Linked DNA regions of Homo sapiens: region 1 is linked to region 2. Evidence: promoter capture Hi-C in 16 types of primary human blood cells and fetal thymus (Javierre and others, 2016). All regions are on one chromosome and are shown on one strand. The core of a region is centred on a gene start or on the middle of the fragment in contact, and the rest is flanking DNA. Distances in the headings are between cores, read along the strand shown.

The links. The method cuts DNA at HindIII sites, captures the fragments that hold promoters and counts their contacts. A CHiCAGO score of 5 or more calls a contact.
Region 1: a contact is called between a fragment that was not itself captured here and the fragment with the promoter of ZNF774 in region 2, in 8 of 17 cell types (endothelial precursors, activated CD4 T cells, naive CD8 T cells and 5 more). The highest score is 7.8, in endothelial precursors.

The regions. Positions count from the first base shown.
Region 1 is chr15:90,453,245-90,459,413 of GRCh38, forward strand. It overlaps IQGAP1 (IQ motif containing GTPase activating protein 1), which reads left to right. Exons shown (of 38, transcript NM_003870.4): 13 at 1-48; 14 at 1,184-1,308; 15 at 2,908-3,071. Among named protein-coding and RNA genes, the nearest start is that of IQGAP1, 68 kb to the left of the region's middle. RefSeq lists an enhancer at 2,907-3,418. The HindIII fragment of the contact is 2,734 bases long and covers 1,875-4,608 here.
Region 2 is chr15:90,350,633-90,356,933 of GRCh38, forward strand. It overlaps ZNF774 (zinc finger protein 774), which reads left to right and starts at 1,652. Exons shown (of 4, transcript NM_001004309.3): 1 at 1,652-1,779; 2 at 4,010-4,132. The coding sequence starts at 4,029. The HindIII fragment of the contact is 4,226 bases long and covers 1-3,664 here.

The sequences.
Region 1 (6,169 bases), core at 1,992-4,491, 100 kb after region 2:
CAGTTCAGTTACTGGTCTTACCAATATTGAGGAAGAAAACTGTCAGAGGTGGGTGTCCAGAGTGAAGGGAATAAATCCATTACGTAGCTGTTAACCCTGTCTTTTGTATGTCAGTGCTCCGATTTTCTTTGCAGGCATTATTACTTTATCATGGTCATACTTTTGTTTGGTTCTACTTTGATTCACTTAATTCTTTGTTATGCTGAAAAATATGACATTCCGTTCCTAAATATATAAGTAGGCTTAAATATGTTACATAGTCAAAATAACACTATCTCTGACAAAGTTAAATAATACTTTTTAAATATCATCTAACCCTAGCTAGTTCATTTTCATTCTTCATTTGTTCCCAAACTGTCCTTTATAGCTGTTTTGTTGAAAACAAGATCTAGCCTAGGAACATGTATTATATCTGGCTGTTGTGTCCCTTGAGTATCTTTTAATCTAGAATTGTCCCTTTCTTCATGAGACTGACTTGTTAAAGGGATGGGACCAATTGCCTATTTTATGGATAGTTCTAGTTGCTTTCTCATATTTGCCTTATTCCTGTAAATTGGAAATTAAATTTCTAGGCTTGTCACGATTCAGTTCAACATTTTTGATGATGTGTATTTCATATTGCCTCATATCAATAGGCATATAAAACCCACTTTTCCCACCATCCCACCATTAGAGATACTAAGATTGATCCCTGGATTAGGGAGACCACTTATACTTCCATTGCGTATTTACGCTTTTCCCTCATCACTAGAACATCATCTCTTTTGCACCGTCAAAATATCTAGTTTTCCATTAAGCATTCACGTGATATTTTTAACCCAATTGATAATCTTTCCTAAATCAGTACCTTCAGTAAAAGTTGCTGAATGATGATTTGTTGCTCTGTCATTCCTCCTGCATTTATTAGCTCATGTGTAGCCTTTTTTTCTTGTCTATGGAGGAATTGCTTGAACTGCTGCCTTTAATTCTAGAGTTAGTCTTAACATGGAATTTAGAATATGTAACAGGATATTGAGAATAAGTGATTTCTGTTGCATTTTTGCACTTTGTTTAAAGTAACTGTGCAGTTCCAAAACTGGTCTTGAGAATATATCAAATGGTTGGGATACCCTAGCAATCTTTGTTCCTTGAATATTTAAACATGCTGTGCTTAATGCTCTTTTTACTTGGGGGTCTGGGGCAGGTATCTCGATGAGTTGATGAAACTGAAGGCTCAGGCACATGCAGAGAATAATGAATTCATTACATGGAATGATATCCAAGCTTGCGTGGACCATGTGAACCTGGTGGTGCAAGAGGAACATGAGAGTGAGTTATCTTCCTGTCCTCCCCAAATAATGTCACCATTAATGATGATGTGATTCCATGAAGTGGTTCAAAATACTACTCCTAGAAGGATTTTTGGGTGAGAGATTGAAAATATCTATATAACACAAAAGGCTAAAGTTGGATATTGTTTTGAGAACACCAGGCAATTGCTATAATTAGGTATATGTCCAGTAAGAACTAAATTTTGGGGGAGGTGAATTGAACATGATCTGTTATTTTTAAATGCTGTTATAACAAGTAGTCCTGACACTACATGGAATTAGGTTGAATTGCACAGGTTGTAGGCATGGTCCTCCACAAGACTCCTCTCACTTCAGACACAAGCTGAAAGCTGCAGGGTTCCCAGGCCACTGTACTTCTGAACAACTGGCTGCAAATTTGGAGGATCCCTTCTACCCGCTCAGGTTTAATAATTTGCTAGAATGACTCACAGAACTCAAGAAAATGCTAGACTTACGATTAAAATTTTATTACAAAATATGTAAATCAGGATCAGCTGAAAGAAGAGAATCATCAGGCAATATCTGTGAGAGTCCCCAATATGAAGCTTCTGTGTTCTCAGGATGTGTCACTCTCCTGGCACATTGACGTGTATCACCAACCAGGGAAACACACCTGAGTTTTGGGTGTCCAGAGTTTTTATTTGGGTTCGTTACATATGCGTGATTGATAGTATTGGCTTTGCGATTAAACTCAATTTTCATTTGGCCTCTGCTCCCTGGAGAATGGGAGGCCAGGCTGGTATCACGTGACTCTATACCTCAGTGGTTGATCTTTCCAGCATGGCCAGCCTCCATCCTTAAACTCTCATGAGGCCAACCAGGAGTCATTGGTTGGCATAAATTCAGGTGTGGGCGGAGGGGCCCACCATGAATCACAGAAACATACCTATCACTCAGGATATCCCAAGGGTCTTAGACGCTCCCCCAGAGACAAAGACCAGCCAGACTTTTTATTATACAGCAGAGTCCTTACAAAAGCAGTACGGCTGCCTAAGATACCTGGGGAGTGAACGTTCCTAATTTTAATTTGTATTTCCTGGGAGAAATATTCAACTGACTTGGTGGGAAGAGCCTTGCTTCGCATTAGGGAGCCCTGCGCTTGGATCTTTCTTCTGCCATTTGTTTGCTGTGTAATCTTGGAGAAGAGATTGCTAAGCCTTGTTATTTCTTCTATAAAAGTGTTGAATTAGATGACTTTTTAAGAACCCTTGAACCTTTTTAAGACTCTTCGTGAATCCTTTGTGACTCAAGAATGTTTTTGATTACACATTCCAGTGTACCTGAAAGCTATACAGTAAGGCCAGTTTCATAAAAATCCTCATCGCTTTTAAGTTAGAGCAATTAAAAATGAAACAAAAGGACTTGAGCATTCAATAGGAATATGAATACAAGTGAGTTTAGTTGAAATAAATACTAATTAAAAAATGAAAACAGTGCTGCTTAACGGATGGTAAGTTGCAGTTTGAATCATGGTTACTCTTAGGTGGATTTATGATTAGTTAGCATGTTCCATGATTGATTTGTTTATGTACTTCCTTAATTAGAAAAAAAAAACTTTCTGTCTCTTTATATTTAGGGATTTTAGCCATTGGTTTAATTAATGAAGCCCTGGATGAAGGTGATGCCCAAAAGACTCTGCAGGCCCTACAGATTCCTGCAGCTAAACTTGAGGGAGTCCTTGCAGAAGTGGCCCAGCATTACCAAGACACGCTGATTAGAGCGAAGAGAGAGAAAGCCCAGGTGAGTGGCATCGGAATTGTTCTTTATGTTCAGAGCACCTCAGCCCTCCTAGAACAAAGGTAGAGGTAGGAATATCTTCCTTGATTCATTCAGTGAATGCCTTCTGGGCACCCTTAGATTCAAAGCACTGGAGGGACACAAAAATGTGAGAGACATAGGCTCCACCTACTAGGAGCTCATGCTGTTTTACACATTTGGGTTTTTGTTCTTTTGTTTGTTGTTGACAGTCTTTTGTGTCTCTTTCAGTAAATTCTTTACTGAAATATAAGATCCAGGGCTGGGCGCAGTGGCTCACGCCTTGTAATCCCACAGCACTTTGAGAGGCCAAGGCAGGCAGATCCCTTGAGGCCAGGAGTTCAAGACCAGCCTGGCCAACATGGTGAAACCTCATCTCTACTAAAAAAAAAAAAAAAAATACAAAAATTAGCTGGGCGTGGTGGTGCATGCCTGTAATCCCAGCTACTTGGTAGGCTGAGGCACAGGAATTACTTGAGCCTGAGAGGTGGAGGTTGCAGTGAGCCGAGATTGCGCCACTGCACTCCAGTCTGGGGGACAGAGTAAGACTCCGTCTCAAAAAAATATATATATATATATATGTGTGTGTGTGTGTATATATATATATACGTATATATATAATATACGTATATATACATATATACGATCCAGAAAAAAAAATATATATATATGATCCAGAAAAATGAACAAGGTAGATGGGTATGCAATTGCATAAATTTTCAAAAGGAGGCACACCTGTGTATTTGGCAGTCAGATTGTAGAACCCATTACCAGCACCACAGAGACCTTCCTCATATCCCCTTCCACCCTTAGCCACCCTCCATTTGGTGGTAAGCACTATTCTGATTTCTATTAATAACACCACAGTTCATTTCCGTCCACTTTTGAGCTGTATTTAAGTGGGATCATACCTTATGTGCTCTTTTGTGTCTGGCTTCTGTTGCCCTAAATAATGTTAATGATATGCATCCATGTGGTTGCATGGAGCCATCCTTTGCTCATTCTCATTGTTGTGTACTATTTCATTGTGTGGTTATATGTTATTGGTGAAGTTTTTTGTTGTTTTGTTTGTTTTTTCAGACTGTTGTAAATAGGGCTTCTTTGTTTTTTTTTTGAGACGGAGTCTTGCTCTGTCACCCAGGCTAGAGTGCAATGACGCAATCTCAGCTCACTGCAACTTCTGCCTCCCAGGTTCAAGCAATTCTCCTGCCTCTGCCTCCCCAGTACCTAGGATTACAGGCGAGAGCCACCATGCCTGGCTAAAATTTTTTTTTTTTTTTTTTGTATTTTTTGTAGAGATGGGGTTTCACCATGTTGGCCAGTTTGGTCTCGAACTCCTGACCTCAAGTGATCTGCCCGCCTCAGCCTCCCAAAGTGTTGGGAATTACAGGCATGAGCCACTGCCCATGGCCTGTAAATAGTGCTTCTATGAATTTTTAATTTTGGTTAAAAACATATATGTGCATTTCTGTTAGGTATACATTTTGGAGAGGAGTTATGGCCATAGGGAACACATATATGAAGCTTTAATAGATAATGTCATGAAGGTTTTTTGTGACAACTTAATTGAAACGTAATTCACGTATCAGGTAATTCAGCGTCAGTGGACTTTAGTACGTTGATAGAATTGTGCAGTCATCACCACAGTCAATTTTTGAACATTTCATCACCCCAAGAGAAACTCAGTACCCATTAGTAGTCACTCATTTTCCCTTAATCTCCCCCAGCCCTGGGCAACCATCAGACTGCTGGTTTGTCTATGGGTTTGTCTATTCTGAACATTTCATATAAATGGAGTTATGCAATGTATGGTCGTTTGTGACTGGCTTCTTTTAGCTTAGTTTATCCAAGCTGTAGCAGTAGCACTTCATTTCTTTTTGTTGCTGAATAATATTCCATTGTATGACTGTACCACATTTTATTTATTTATTCATGAGTTGATGACACATGGATTATTTCCACTTTACCACATTTTATTTATCCATTCATGAGTTGATGACATATGAATTATTTGCACTTTATTCGTGATTTGATAGACACTTAGCATGAGTGACAGCTATATAAGTTGTATCTTCAATCTACTTCCCTTTTTAGATATGGAAGCCGACCTAGCTTATTCTCCGAAACCCCACTCCTCTGACAGTCAGATATAAGGCTCCCTTTGGACTTTCTTAGCAGCAAAAACAAACATTACTACCACTAGCATACATAGAATCATTGCAGCCTGACACATTAGAGATTCTGAATCAGTAGAATTAGACTTTAAGCTTAGGAATCTGTATTTTAAAAATGACTTTTTCATTGTTCTGATGACCAGCCAAGTTTGGGAAACACTAATCTAATAAAATGAATCAAAGACAGAGACTTCCATTTCTAGCTTCCCTAGAGCCAACTACTTCTTATCCGAGTAAGTAAAATCAGTTGATCTCAATTTCCTGGCTATGAAATAGCAGTTGTGATTCAACCCTCTCCACAGCATCAAGTGACATTCTGCATAATTATATCTCTTAAATGAAACCTGGTAGTATCTATCAGATACTACACTTACATGATTAGGACATGGTAATGTCAACTACTGCCATGCCAATGTAATCAAAGGAGATCAGTCAACATCATAATATTACCAACATATAAAATTGCCCACTCCTCTACCCTTCACCAAAACTTACAGAGCCCACACGAGTGTCAGTGTGCAAAAAGCTCCAATACACTAAAGCCTTGGTCTGTTTTTATACGTCTGGCTACTCAGAATTAAAAATTTCTTTTAGCCCTTCCGCTTGCTGCCTCACTTCAGGAGTCTTCTGAAGGCTATGGTTCTATCCAGTTGTTGTTACTTAGTAAGCACTGAAAAGGAGGTCAATCACAATTAGAAAACAGATGTTAATTATGCTTTAATCAACAATTATTTGAGGGCCTACTACATACAAGGCAACTTCCTAGACAGCAACAGCATAAAAAGAGGCATAAACCTTGTCAATTTCCTCAGCAAACTAGGTAGCGGGTAAGACAAACATTTTAAAAGATGAGTTTATGTTACAATTACTTTAACAACTTTATCTTCATAGTAGCATTATTCCTGATAG
Region 2 (6,301 bases), core at 402-2,901:
AGGTAATGGTTATGTATGATTCCCGAGTAATCACAGTTCCCAGAACGATCTTTTTTTTTTTTCTTTCTTTTTTTCTTTTTTGAGACGGAGTCTTGCTCTGTCGCTCAGGATGGAGTCCAGTGGCGCGATCTCGGCTCACTGCAAGCTCCACCTCCCGGGTTCACATCATTCTCCTGCCTCAGCCTCCCGAGTAGCTGGGACTACAGGCGCCCGCCACCACGCCCGGCTAATTTTTTCTATATTTAGTAGAGACGGGGTTTCACCATGTTAGCCAGGATGGTCTCGATCTCCTGACCTCGTGATCCTCCCGCCTCGGCCTCCCAAAGTGCTGGGATTACAGGCGTGAGCCACCACGCCCTGCCCCCAGAACGATCTTGAGAACAGAATGTTCCCAATAAATATCCACTGGAAAATGCACCTTATTTTTGTTGAAGGAATGGTGGAATTAGCATCAAAGGGATCTTCAACATTAACTCGGGCCGGGCACGGTGGCTCACGCCTGTAATCCCAGCACTTTAGGAAGCCGAGGCGGGCGGATCACGAGGTCAGGAGATGGAGATCATCCTGGCTAACATGGTGAAACCCCGTCTCTACTAAAAATACAAAAAATTAGCCGGGTGTGGTGGCGGGCGCCTGTAGTCCCAGCTACTCGGGAGGCTAAGGCAGGAGAATGGTGTGAACCTGGGAGGCAGAACTCGCAGTGAGCCGAGATCGTGCCACTGCACTCTAGCCTGGGCGACAGAGCGAGACTCCGTCTAAAAAAAAAAAAAAAAAAAAACTCTATGGCTGGTAATTCTAAGCGTTTTATAATACATCACAAAATGTTCTTTTATTTTTCTAAATTGCACTGAATCAACAAACGGAGTAGACAGGCACATTTTCTTCACTTTAAGGAAAGACTTTGTTGTTTTTTAGCTAGGGGCCGACCCAAAGTGATCACTGGCTCTCACATGAGACCCAGGAGCCTCCCCAGTTTGAAGCCCGATATCACATTTCCCAGAATACTTGATGCCCTCGCCCGCCTCCTCTGGCTATCAACCAGACGGAAAGGGGATGTGCCTGGGAGTTTGATGCCAAGGGAAGGATGCGGAATGTCTGTTTTCTACTAAGGGCTTCTGCTGGGCCTTTCCAATGTCCAGTTTGAGTTGGTCTGGGACCTGGCCTCCGCAAACACCCTGCAGGCTCCGGCCGCCGGGGATGAGGTGGAAGACTGGGCAGAAGAGAGGCCGCAAAGGCCCGAGGGCTGAGCTGCTCTGCGCTGGGGAGGGGCGAAGTGCCAGAGCGCGGGAGACCTCATGGTGGGCACCAGGCTGCTCCGCGGTAGGTGGGTGAGGCCAGGAGATTCACATCTGCAGATGCCACAGTGAGGATACAGCATTTAGATCCCTCGGCTCCAAACAGGCGGTTCCGGGGGACCGGTAGCTGGGGAATTGGGTTTAGCACTTTCCAACGCTTGGAACTGGACATCCACGGCTCCGAGTCCTTTGAGGTCTTGCTCGGGACTACGTTTCCCAGAAGGCTAGGCGATAATTGACAGCTCTATCAGCCTATGGACAGAGAAAAATTCTAGCCATGGAAACTGAAAAGCCAATAGCAAGAGGATGGGGGCGGTACTTTCCGGCCGCTGGCTGTCGAAGCCGGAGTCCCACCTGTGTCCCCACAGCCCTGTCACGAATCCCGGTCGGGTTCTGGGAGGCACAGCCTCGGGGTTGCGGGCCGGGTGCGGCTCGGCGGTGGAGGACTCACTTCCTGCTCCATCCCCGGCTGGGCCCTGGGGCGGTGAGTGATTCAAGGAGGGAGACCGCGGCGGCAGCGGCGCGCTGCTGAGGGGCGTGGAGGGGGCTTGCCCGCCACCCAGACGTTTTCTCAGCGGGGTTCCCGCGCTGGCCTTTGGGAGCCCCCGGGTCTTGCTGGGCTGTGGGAGAGGTAGCTGTGGTCTCTATACCGTCGGCGGGATAAGTCATTCTCTTAATCAGTTTTCTTGCTTCTCGATGGTGGTCCCAGGGTTTCAGCTGATCTGTGACCCTCTGACCGCCGCACCCCGGTTAGGGCGCGAGCACCGAGAAGAAGAACGGGGTTCGGCCCCACGCGTGCAGTCATGTTCCTATTAATAAACCCGGTGAACGCACTGGAGCTTCTCACAGTGGCACTTAGTCACAGCCCCTCAGCGCTGTGGGGCCTTTGAGGTCACCTGTGCATGGGGAAAGGGACGGGCTGGGAAACAGGGTTTCTATAACCGTGGCTAAGACGTCTCCCCTCCTCAGTGGCGCTGTCTCCAGCAAGTGGGCCCTGCAGCTGTGTTTTGTAATGAATGTAGAAATAAAAATTATACTCAAAACTCTTTTTTTTTTTTAGACGGAATTTCGCTCTTGTTGCCCAGGCTGGAATGCAATGGCGCTATCTCCTTTCACTGCAGTCTCCACCTCCCGGGTTCAGGCGATTCTCCTGCCTCAGCCTCCCAAGTAGTTGGGATTACAGGCGTGTGCCACCACACCCGGCTAATTTTGTATTCTTAGTAGAGACAGGGTTTCACCATGTTGGCCAGGCTGATCTCGAACTCCTGACCCCAGGTGATCCGCCCGTCTCGTCTTCCCAAAGTGCTGGGATTACAGTCATGAGCCACAGCACCTGGCCAATACTGAAAACTCTTATTACAATTTTTACTTTCTAATTACATTATTGTTGTTTGTTAAAGTTTTAAACCAGAGAGATGGTTTTTAGATCCTTAAAAACTCAATACTTTATAAATGACCAATAATAATGTCTGTAAATACAAAAATATTTCCCCCAAAAGTGTGTGTGTGTGTGTGTGTGTGTGTGTGTGTGTGTGTGTGTTCCAGTAGTAAATAGGTGATTTGTAGTGGGACAAAAGATGTGAAAGAGTAAAACTTCTTCACCACAGTCTGGTCCTTCCTCCCTTGAAATGCAATATTCTTTGTAGTGGGTGGTCATGCTGGCTGCATTTTTTTTTTTTTTAAGGGAGAGACAGGGGCTCACTCTGTTGCTAGGCTGGGGTGCAGTGGCGCCATCATAGCTCACTGCAGCCTGGAACTCCTGGGCTGAAGTGATCCTCCCACTTCAGCCTCCTGAGTAGCTGGGACCACAAGTGCATGCCACCATGCCTGGCTGATTTTTAAAAGTTCTTTGTAGAGAAAGAGGTCTCAATATGTTGCTGAGGCTGGTTTATTGGAAACTTTTTAAGGGAAAAAACATTATCTTAATTTCTATGTGACTCCTATGCCTGGCAACATATTAATTGTTGAATAAATGACTGATCCATCCAGTAATTCACTCTTGACTATCCTCCAAAAAGTAATGTTTTTCATGATATTGCTGTCGATTTATTAATATATTAATGATTGGTTTCAGCCCCTAAGAGTTGTGTTTTGTGCTTATTCCCACTTTCACTTATTTTTACAACCTATCCATGTCTTCTTTTTTTTAAAAAAAAAATGTCTTTTTCAGTCTTATTTCTGACTCCATTAAGATCTTGAAATAGAATGGTATCCAACACAGTTCCCTTTGGGGTTCTGTATAATCTGTCCCTTGAGGTTGACACCAAATCTGCAAGCCAAGAAGTTAGCTGCTCCCATAACTAATATGAGTATAGTTAAGGCCACAATTTCCTTGCTTGCTGAGGAAAATGAAGTTGGGGAGAATCAAAAGCTTTCCAGAAATCAAATTACACCTGCCAACTCTCTCCTTTGTTTACCTTGTTCATCGTGGACAATTTGTTCCTCAAAAAGTCAATGTGTCTAAAAGACTGGGTTCTGTCGATGTGTTTGGGAGGCCTAGGCCTCTCTTAGTAATGGGAAAGTTGGCCAGGAGAAGACGTATGTAAAAACAGACTTAGAAAAGCACCCCTCTGTGGTTGACAGAATTTACCTCAGGACCATTCTGGTCAGGTGTGGGGGGTTGTTTGTGTACACTGGTGGCCATTTTTTGGCTTTCAGACAATGGTGAGAATATCTAGGGAGCTACTGATGCACATTGAGGTCTCTTGCTTTAGGAACTGATGACGCTTGATAATGTGGCTGGGGACTTCAGGGAAGAGTGGGTTACCTGGACACTGCTTAGAGAATCCTCTCCAGGAATGCCACCCAGCACAGTTAGAAGAATGGGCTCTCAAAGGGTAAGAATGCTACTCTCCTTTATTTCATTTATTTATCTTGTTTTTTTTGAGACGGGGTCTCGCTCTGTCATCCAGGCTGGAGTGCAGTGGCGCGATCTCGATTCACTGCAATCTGTGCCTCCTGGGCTCAAGCGATTCTCCCACCTCAACCTCCTGAGTAGCTGCGATCACAGGCATGTGCCACCATGCCTAGCTAATTTTTTGTGTTTTTAGTAGAGACAGGATTTTGCTATGTTGGCAAGGCTGGTCTCACTATGCTGTCCAGGCTGGTCTCAAACTCCTGAGCTCAAGCAATCCACTGGCCTCCGCCTTCCAAAGTGCTAGGATTATGGGCGCCACCATGCCTGACCACTGCTCTCCTTTAATTTGAGACTTAGATATTTGGAGAGGGCCCAGGTCTGAGGAGTTTCTGGTATGTTGGCATCTTAGAGCTCCAGACCTCTGTAAGATTAATTGTTGCCTCCTTGGGAGAAAAACAATTACTTCCTTATGCATTTTATGGTTTGCAAATGTCTTTGCTATTTATTGTCCTTTTAATATCTCATCATAACTTTTTGACTTATGTATTACTATCCCCCTTTTCCAGCCTGGGTTGGACTCTCACCTCTGCCACTTAACTTCTGAGACTTCTGAGGTCTTTGTGGAAAAGGAGGTAATTTTTTCTGTCACTTAAAAACAGGCTGGGGGCAGTGGCTCACGCCTGTAATCCCAGCACTTTGGTAGGCTGAGGTGGGCGGATCATAAGGTCAGGAGTTCGAGACCAGCCTGGCCAACATGATGAAACCCTGTCTCTACTAAAAATAAAAAAATTAGCTGGGTGTGATAGCGGGCGCCTGTAATCCCAGCTACTTTGGAGGTTGAGGCAGGAGAATTGCTTGAACCTGGGAGGTGGAGGTTGCAGTGAGCTGAGACCACGCCATTGCACTCCAGCCTGGGCAATAGAGCAAGACTCTGTCTCAAAAAAAAAAAAAAAAAAAAAAACAAGGCTGGGCGCGGTGGCTCATGCCTGTAATCCCAGCACTTTGGGAGGCCAAGGCAGGGAGATCACAAGGTCAGGAGATCGAGACCATCCTGGCTAACATGGTGAAACCCCGTCTTACTAAAAATACAAAAAATTAGCCAGGCATGGTGGTGGGCACCTGTAGTCCCAGCTACTCGGGAGGCTGAGGCAGGAGAACAGCGTGAACTGGGAGGCGGAGCTTGCAGTGAGCCAAGATCATGCCACTGCACTCCATCCTGGGCGACAGAGCAAGACTCCATCTCAAAAAAAAAAAAATAAATAAAAAAAACCAAAAACACCTCCAATGCTCTTTCTCAAATATCATGGCTACCCTTCCTCCTGCTTTACTTCTTTCTTTCTTTTTTTTTTTTTGTGGCAGAGTCTCGCTGTGTCGCCCAGGCTGGAGTGCCATGGCATGATCTCGGCTCACTGCAACCTCTGCCTCCTAGGTTCAAGCGATTCCTGGATAATTTTTTGTATTTTTAGTAGAGATGGGTTATCTCCATGTGGTCAGGCTGGTCTCAAACTACTGACCTCAAGTGATCCGCTCACTTCGGCCTCCCAAAGTGCTGGGATTATAGGAGTGGGCCCAGCTCTAATTTTTGTATTTTTAGTGGAGTCGAGGTTTCACCATGTTGGCCAGGCTGGTCTTGAACTCCTGACCTCAAGTGATCCGCTGGCCTTGGCCTCCCAAAGTGCTGAGATTAGAGGTGTGAGCCACTGCGCCTGGCCTACTTCATCTATTATACAAGTAATGTATACTCATTCAATAAAAAGTCAAGCAAAATGAAAACAAACATCATCCCTAATCCCACCAATGAAGAGTTACTATCCTACCAGCATTTTTCTAAGCATATATACAATTTTAAAAGAAGCACAAAAGAATAATATTGGGATTATGCTGTATATTCAGCTGTACATTCTTTCTTCCATGTTGTATTGTGAGTATATCTTTCTTTACATCACTTAAAATAACCACCTAGTATTTTGTTTTATGGAATACAATATTATTTTGTTGATGAAGTCAAACATTAGATTGAACCATATATCTGACCTTTTTTTAACCTATAAAAATAGCAATTGCCTGAGCTACTTGGGAGGCTGAGGCAGGAGGATCCCTTCAGCACAGGAGTTCGAGGCTGCAGTGAGCTATATAATTATTCCTTTGT